Regions from separate parts of the Homo sapiens genome. Here region 2 is linked to region 1. Evidence: promoter capture Hi-C in 16 types of primary human blood cells and fetal thymus (Javierre and others, 2016). All regions are on one chromosome and are shown on one strand. Each heading gives the region's core, a stretch centred on a gene start or on the middle of the fragment in contact. The rest is flanking DNA. Distances are from core to core; before and after follow the strand shown. Region 1 holds the start of CYTH1 (cytohesin 1). Region 2 overlaps DNAH17 (dynein axonemal heavy chain 17).

Region 1 (3,942 bases), core at 991-3,490:
CAAGAACACAAGAGAGGCCACAAAAGCCTGGTAGGCAGGACACTGGGATCTGAGGGAAATTAAATGGCAAGAGGAGGCAGAGAAAAGAGCAGCAGGCAAAACTGCTGTCGGCTTCTCAGCAGTGGGCAGGAGTGAAATCTGGAGGGGCTGAACAATCTTTTGGGGCCAGCCAGTGGGTGATTTTTCTTTTAATCACAAAAGGAGGCTGGGAGCAGTGGCTCATGCCTGTAATCCCAACACTTTGGGAGGCCAAGATAGGAACTGGAGTTCACACCAGCCTAGGCAACATAGGGAGACCTCCCTCTCTACAAAAAGAAATAAAAATAATTAGCAGGGCGTGGTAGCCCAGGCCTGTAGTCCAGGTTACAGGAGGGGCTGAGAAGAGAGGTGAGAGGATTGCTTGAGCCAAGGAAGCAGAGCGTGCAGTGAGCTATGAGAGCGCCCCTGCACTCCAGCCTGCGCAAGAGAGCTAGACCCTGTCTCAAAAACACAACAAAACAAACAACAAAAAAATGCACAAGCTGCTTTTACTTGTTTACTTATAAGGTAACAAGTGGGCTGGGTGTGGTGGCTCAGGCCTGTAATCCCAACACTGTGCGAGGCAGAGGTGGGAGGACTGCTTGGGTCTAGGAGTTCAAGACCAGCCTGGGTAACATGGCAAGACCCCATCTTTTAAAAAAGTAAAAAATTAGGGCTGGGCGCGGTGGCTCATGCCTGTAATCCCAGCACTTTGGGAGGCCGAGGCGGGTGGATCACCTGAGGTCAGAAGTTCAAGACCAGCCTGGCCAACATGGCAAAACCCTGTCTCTACTAAAAATACAACAATTAGACAGGCGTGGTGGCACGCGCCTGTAGTCCCAGCTACTCAGGAGCCTGAGGCAGGAGAATCGCTCAGCTCACCCAGGAGGCCGAGGTTGCAGTGAGCCGAGATGGCGCCACTGCACTACAGCCTGGGCGACAGAGTGAGACTCCGTTTCAAAAATAAAATAAAATAAAATAAAATAATAAAATAAAATAAAATAAAAAATTAGCCGGGCATGGTGGCGTGCGTATGGTTCCAGCCACTCAAGAGGCTGACGTGAGCTACGATCACGCCACTGTGCTCCAGCCTGGGTGACAGAGCGAGATCTCGTCTCTTAAAAAAAAAAAAAAAAGAAAAATGTCCCATTAGTTATTAAACTAGAATTGGGTTCCATTTGGCCACAGAGTTCTGCTTTATTTGTACTTTGCTACCAAACCACAAAAGTTCACCACTTGTTCTATTTGCCATTCTTCCTTTTAATTCCTCATGAACAAACTTAATAAATTAACTACAGCATGTCAAACAACCTTTTGCAACCCTTGCAATTTCAAACTCTTGGAGGGAGGCACCCCTGGCCTGGGCCAGCAGCCTCAACGCGCGGGAGCGAAGGGAGCGGGACAGCGGCTCCGCTTGCCAAGTCCCCAGTCAGGGGAGGAGCGGCGTCCCCACCGCGGTGCCCCTCGGGCTCCACACCCGCGTCTCGGCAGGCGGCGACGCACCGGACCGGCGGCTACCGGGCCCAGACTCCCGCGGGCAGGGCCGTCCCGGAGCCCGCGCCTCGCCGGCGGCGCCGCTCCCCGTTCTCATTTCTGAACAAAGACGTGGACCGGGCACAACTCGCTGACGCCGAGAGCGGCCGGAAACTGCGGGGAACGCGGGCCCGGCCATCCGCGCGTCCGCCCCGAGCCCCGCAGAGGGGCGGCAGGGCCAGCGACCTCCACCCCTCGGCCCCCCGGGACCCGGACTGCGACCCCTGCCCCGGGGACCCCAGCGACCCCAACGACTCTCATCCCTCAGAGCCCCTGAGATCCTGCCCCGCGACCCCAACGACCCTCATTCCTCAGAGCTCGCGGCGACCCCTGGCCCCGCGAGACCGCGAGCCCGGCCTGTGACCCCCGCCCCAGCCACCCACATCCCTCAGCGCCGCCAGCGACCCCGGCCCCGGCGACCCTCATCCCTCAAAACCCCCTGCGACCCCCGCCCCGCGAGGGCCCCGCGCACCGCTCGCCCGCCGGTCGCCCCGGGCTCCGCGTCCCGCACCAGTGTCCCCGGGAAACGCCAGCCGCCGCAAGCGCTGCCGGACGGCCGGGCCCGGAGGGGACTGGGGGACAGCGAGGGGGAAGCGTCCGCCGCCGGGGCGCACTGACCGTAGCTGTCGTCCTCCTCCATGGTGCGGGAGCCGGGCTCCGCGCTCCGGCTCGCCGCTCGCGTCCCGCCGCGCCACCCGCGCCCCCGCTCGCCTCAGCCCGGCTCGGAGCCCCGCCCCCGGCGCCCCGCGCCCCGCGCCCCGCCCGCCCGCGCCTGCGCCTGCGCCCGCCCCCTGCCCCCGGCCCGAGGCCCCGCCCCTCGCCCGAGGCCCCGCCTTCCTCCCGCGCGCGCCGCACCCCGGGTACCCGGCCTCCTCCCGAGGCTCCGGCCTGCGCACGCGCGTCCACCCGAGGCTCCTCCCCTGCCCCCGCCTCTAGACCACGCCCCCGTCCCGAGACACACACACCCCCCCCCCTTCTCCCGGTCCGCCTCCTGGGGCCGAGCAGGTTTCGGTTTCTGAAGGGCGGTGCAAGTCCCCGGGGTGGCGGACTCGACCTGGCCTGCAGCCAGGCTACTGCACGAAAGCCCAAGGTCGTGTCCGGCCACTGAAGGGCAGGGTGGTCCTTGCTGACGCCAACCTGGAAGGTCAGACCCGGCCCCAGCTTGCCAGGGAGGGCCCGGTCCTTGGCGAAAGGCCACAAAAGCTATTTGAAGTCATTTACTCCTGCGTTCAGAACCTTTACATGCTGTATGTCCTAAGTTTACTGCTTCTACTTCTTTTTATTTGTCCTGAGTTTTACCTGGGTCAAGATTGAAAGGAGGGCACTTCAAGTCCCAGCGTTTTGGATTTTATTTATTTATTGGAGACGAGTTTCGCTCTTGTTGCCCAGGCTGGAGTGCAGTGGCCCGATCTCGGCTCACTGAAACCTCCGCCTCCCGGGTTCAAGCGATTGTCCTGCCTCAGCCTCCTGAGTAGCTGTGATTACAGGCATGTGCCACCAGGCCCGACTAATTGTATTTTTAGTAGAGACGGGGTTTCGCCATGTTGGCCAGGCTGGTCTCGAACTCCTGACCTCAAATAATCCGCCTGCCTCGGCCTCCCAAAGTGCTGGGATTACAGGTATGAGCCACCGCGCTCGGCCTTCTCTTTCTTTATGACAGAGGACAATCCCACTGCTGCAGAATGCCAGCACCAGAACCCCCCTTTCCCCCTGCAGTCACTTGTGGCTCCTGCACCCTACACAGAACACTCACTGAGAACTCCACAGAGATCCCTGGACTGCTGGGAATTTTTTGGACCAACCAAAAAACGGGAGTAAAAGCCACAGAACTCTTTCCTTGTGGGCCCACCTGTCCTGAGTTTTACTATTTTTCTTTTTCTTTTATTTATTTATTCATTTTGAGACAGAGTCTCACTCGCTGTGTTGCTCAGGCTAGAGTACGGTGGCACCATCATGACTCCCTGCAACCTCTGCTTCCCAGGCTCAAGCAGTTCTCCCACCTCAGCCTCCTGAGTAGCTGAGACTGCAGGCACCGGCCACCATACCTGGTTAATTTTTGTATTTTTTGTAGAGACGGAGGTTGCTAGGTTGCCCAGGCTGGTCTCGAACTCCTAGGCTCAAGTGATCCTTTCTCTTTGGTCTCCTTCCTTGGCCTCCCAAAGTACTGGAATTACAGGCGTGAGCCACCACGCCTGGCTGGATTCATGATCTTAACCTTCACTGACTTTACCAGATTGTCCAGTTTTACAGGTGACCTTAGAGAGTCACATTTTGGCCCTAACGTGTCCTTGGGCTTCGGCGTGTGAGGTCAGAGACCCAGCTGCATTTTGTTCCTCTTGGCCTAGACTTAGGACACTTTTAGAATTGACCCCACATTGACCTGGCAAATCT
Region 2 (3,699 bases), core at 850-3,349, 260 kb before region 1:
AAGCCTGCTGGCATTCTTTAAAAAGTTGTCAGTTCTTTCAGTTCTGCCAAGATGGAGCAGCCCTGTTACTTCCAGCTTCTCTCTCTTACAACTGAAAAACCTTGGACATATCACAACAAACAAGACCATGGAAGATTACTCATATATTGAGGAAATACATAAGACAGTTATGTTATAGTTAAGAGGGGCAGAGGTGAGGGCAAAGAGATCTAAATGGAAGTGAGGTTTCTACACACAAAAGTGACAAAATGTTGATATCAGTGACTGTCAAACAGCCACTAAGAAAACTATATAAAGCGCTATGTTCAGAATCACTCTAAATAAATCAGGATGGATCCTAAAAATGTTAAAATAAAAGAGAGTCAGAGGAATAAGAAACAAAGGGAACAAACAGAAAACAAAATGGCAGACATAGGCTGTAACATGACAATAATTACCTTAAATGCAAAATGGTCTAAACAGATCAATTAAAAGCCAGAGACTGGCAGAGTGGACGAAAAAACATGACCCAATCATATGCTGTATATAAGAAACTCAGTTCAAACACAAAAATATAGGTAGCTTGAAAATTTAAAAATGGAGAAAGATCAGGACGAACACTAGTCAAAAACAATAGAAAAAACAGAAGTAGCTATACTAGTATCAGATCAAGCCAACCTTAGAGCAAAGAAAATTCCTAGAGACAAAAGGAACATTACATAATGGGAAAAAGGGTCAACCTATAAGAAGACAATAATCCCAAATCTGTACACACCAAGCAACAGAGCCTCAAAATACACAAAGCAAAAACTGATGGAGCTGAAAGGAGAAATAAACACATCTATAATTATAGTTGGAGAGATTTCAGCACCCCACTCTCAGCAGTTTATGGAACTGCTAGACAGAAAATTAGCAAGACTATAAAAGGACAGAACAACACAACCAACTGACAGGATCTAATTGACACGTATAAAACACTCCGCCCAACAGAAGCAGAATACGCATTCTGTTCAAGTGCCCATGGGACATTCCCCCAGACAGACTATATCCTGATCCATAAAATAAAGCTTAATACATTTAAAATAATGAAAGTTATATACAGTGTGTTCTTTGACCATAATGGAATCAAACTAGAAATCAATAATAGAAAGGAAACAGGAAAATCTCTAAACGCTTAGAAATTTAAAATACAGGCCAGGCGTGGTGGCTCACGCCTGTAATCCCAGCACTTTGGGAAGCCGAAGTGGGCTGATCACAAGGTCAGGAGATCGAGACCATTCTGGCTAACATGGTGAAACCCCGTCTCTACTAAAAATACAAAAAATTAGCCGGGCGTGGTGGCGGGCACCTGTAGTCCCAGATACTCGGGAGGCTGAGGCAGGAGAATGGCGTGAACCCAGGAGGTGGAGCTTACAGTGAGCCAAGATAGCGCCACTGCAGTCTGGCCTGGGTGAAAGAGCGAGACTCCGTCTCAAAAAAAAAAAAAAAAAAAAAAAAAAGAAATGTAAAATATACTTCTAAATCATCCATGGGTCAAAGAGGAAGCCTCAAAAGAAATTAAAAAACACACAGAACTGAATGTAATATCAAAATACGTGGGACGCAGCTAATGTAGAGAGGGAAATTTTATAGCACGAAGTGTTTCCTTTAGAAAAGAGAAAAGGTCTCAAATCAATAATCCAAGTTTCTACCTCAATAAACTAGAAAATGAGCAAGATAAACCCAAAGCAAAGGAAGGAACAAAATAATAAAGACCAGAAACTGATGAAGTTTAAAATAAAACAGCACAAAAGTTAAACAAAAATCTTTTTCTTTGAAAAATCAATAAAGTTTATAAACCTCTATTATGACCGACAAAGATGAAGAGTGAAGACATAAGTCACCAACACTAGGAATGAAATAGAAGATACCACTGCTGAGCTTGCAGCCATCTAGAGGATAGTATGGAACTAGTATAAACAACTTTATGCTTGCTTGAATTAAACAATTTAGAAGAAATAAACCAATTCCTCAAAAACCACAAGCTACCAAAATTCACTACCAAGATTTTCACAAATTTGAAACAGACCAACGTGAACAAGCCTGTATGGCCATTAAAGAAATTGAATTTGTAACTAAAAATCTCATGGAAATGGCCGGGCATGGTGGCTCACGCCTGTAATCCCAGCACTTTGGGAGGCTGAGGTGGGTGGATCACCTGCGGTCAGGAGTTTGAGACCAGCCTGACCAACATAGTGAAACCCTGTCTCTATTAAAAATACAAAAAATTAGCTGGGTGTGGTGGTGGGCACCTGTAATCCCAGCTACTCAGGAGGCTGAGGTGGGAGAATCGCTTGAACCCAGGAGGCAGAGGTTGCAGTGAGCCAAAATCACACCACTGCACTCCAGGCCTGGGCGATAGAACGAAACTCTGTTTCAAGAAAAAAAAAGTCAGTGTAATCAATTATCTTAGCAGACTAAACAAAAATCAATCATATCAGTAAACACAAAAAAATTTGACAAGATCTAACACCTGTTCATGATGAATAAAAAGAAAAGGAATAGAATTTCCTCAATTTGAAAACTTACAGCTAATATACATAATGGCAAAGTGGTTTTCCTCTTAGATTGGGAACAATGCAAGGATGTGTGAACTCACCACTCTTATTCAACAGAGTACTGGAAGTTCAGGCCACTGCAATAAGGCAAGAAAGAGAAGTAAAAGACATACAGAATGGAAAGGAAAAATAAAACTGTTCCTATTTGCAGATGACATTATTGTCTATGTACAAAATCCCTAAGGAGTCTAAAAAAGCCATCCTAGAACTAGTAAGTGAGTTTAGCAAGGCCACAAGAGAAAAACAAACACATAAAAATTATTCACATTTGTATATACCCAAACAAACATGTGCAAACCAAAATTTAAGATGCAACGCCACTTATTAATACAATCACTTCTAAAAAGAAAAGGAAAGACACATGAGGTATAAATGTAACAAAACATGTATAGGATCTTAAATGCTATAACAAAATGAAATCACAAAAAAATCAAAGAAGAGCCAAATAAATGGAGAGATACATTATGTTATGGACTGGGAGACAGAGTCAACATGTCAGTTCTCTCCAAATTGATTAATAGTTTTAACGCAATTCCTATAAAAACCCCAATAAGGTTTTATTTTTTTATAAGCATAACAAGCTTATTCTAAAATTTATATGGAAAAGTACAAGTCCTAGAAGAGCAAACCAATCTTGACAAAAAAGGATAAAGTGGGAGGAATCGCTCTGATAACAAACCTTACTAGATTGCTCTAGGAATCAAGACTGTGCAGTATCATGGAGGGACAGACACGAAGACCAATGGAACAGAGCACAGAACCCATCAACAGCAGCAGTCTAAGGTGCCCAACTGACTTTTGATAAAGATGCAAAATAAATTAAATGGAGCGGGGCCAGGCGCTGTGGCTCACGCCTGTAATCCCAGTACTTTGGGAGGCTGAGGCAGGTGGATCGCTTGAGGTCATGAGTTCAAGACCAGCCTGGCCAACATGGCGAAACCCCATCTCTACTGAAAATACAAAAATTAGCTGGGTGGAGTGGTGTGTGTCTGTAATCCCAGCTACTCAGGAGGCTGAGGCAGGAGAATCGCTTGAACCGGGGAGGTGGAGGTTGCAGTGAGCCAAGATCGCACCACAGCACTCCAGCCTGGGTGACAAGAGCGACACTCCATCTCAAAGAAAA

The links. The method cuts DNA at HindIII sites, captures the fragments that hold promoters and counts their contacts. A CHiCAGO score of 5 or more calls a contact.
Region 2: a contact is called between a fragment that was not itself captured here and the fragment with the promoter of CYTH1 in region 1, in 1 of 17 cell types (monocytes). The highest score is 5.9, in monocytes.

The regions. Positions count from the first base shown.
Region 1 is chr17:78,780,033-78,783,974 of GRCh38, forward strand. CYTH1 (cytohesin 1) reads right to left here and starts at 2,241. Exons shown (of 14, transcript NM_004762.6): 1 at 2,170-2,241. The coding sequence starts at 2,191. RefSeq lists an enhancer at 243-342 and silencers at 1,361-1,760, 2,021-2,300, 2,341-2,500. The HindIII fragment of the contact is 19,906 bases long and covers 1-3,942 here.
Region 2 is chr17:78,517,716-78,521,414 of GRCh38, forward strand. All of the region lies in intron 25 of DNAH17 (dynein axonemal heavy chain 17), which reads right to left. Among named protein-coding and RNA genes, the nearest start is that of DNAH17-AS1, 35 kb to the left of the region's middle. The HindIII fragment of the contact is 2,111 bases long and covers 1,045-3,155 here.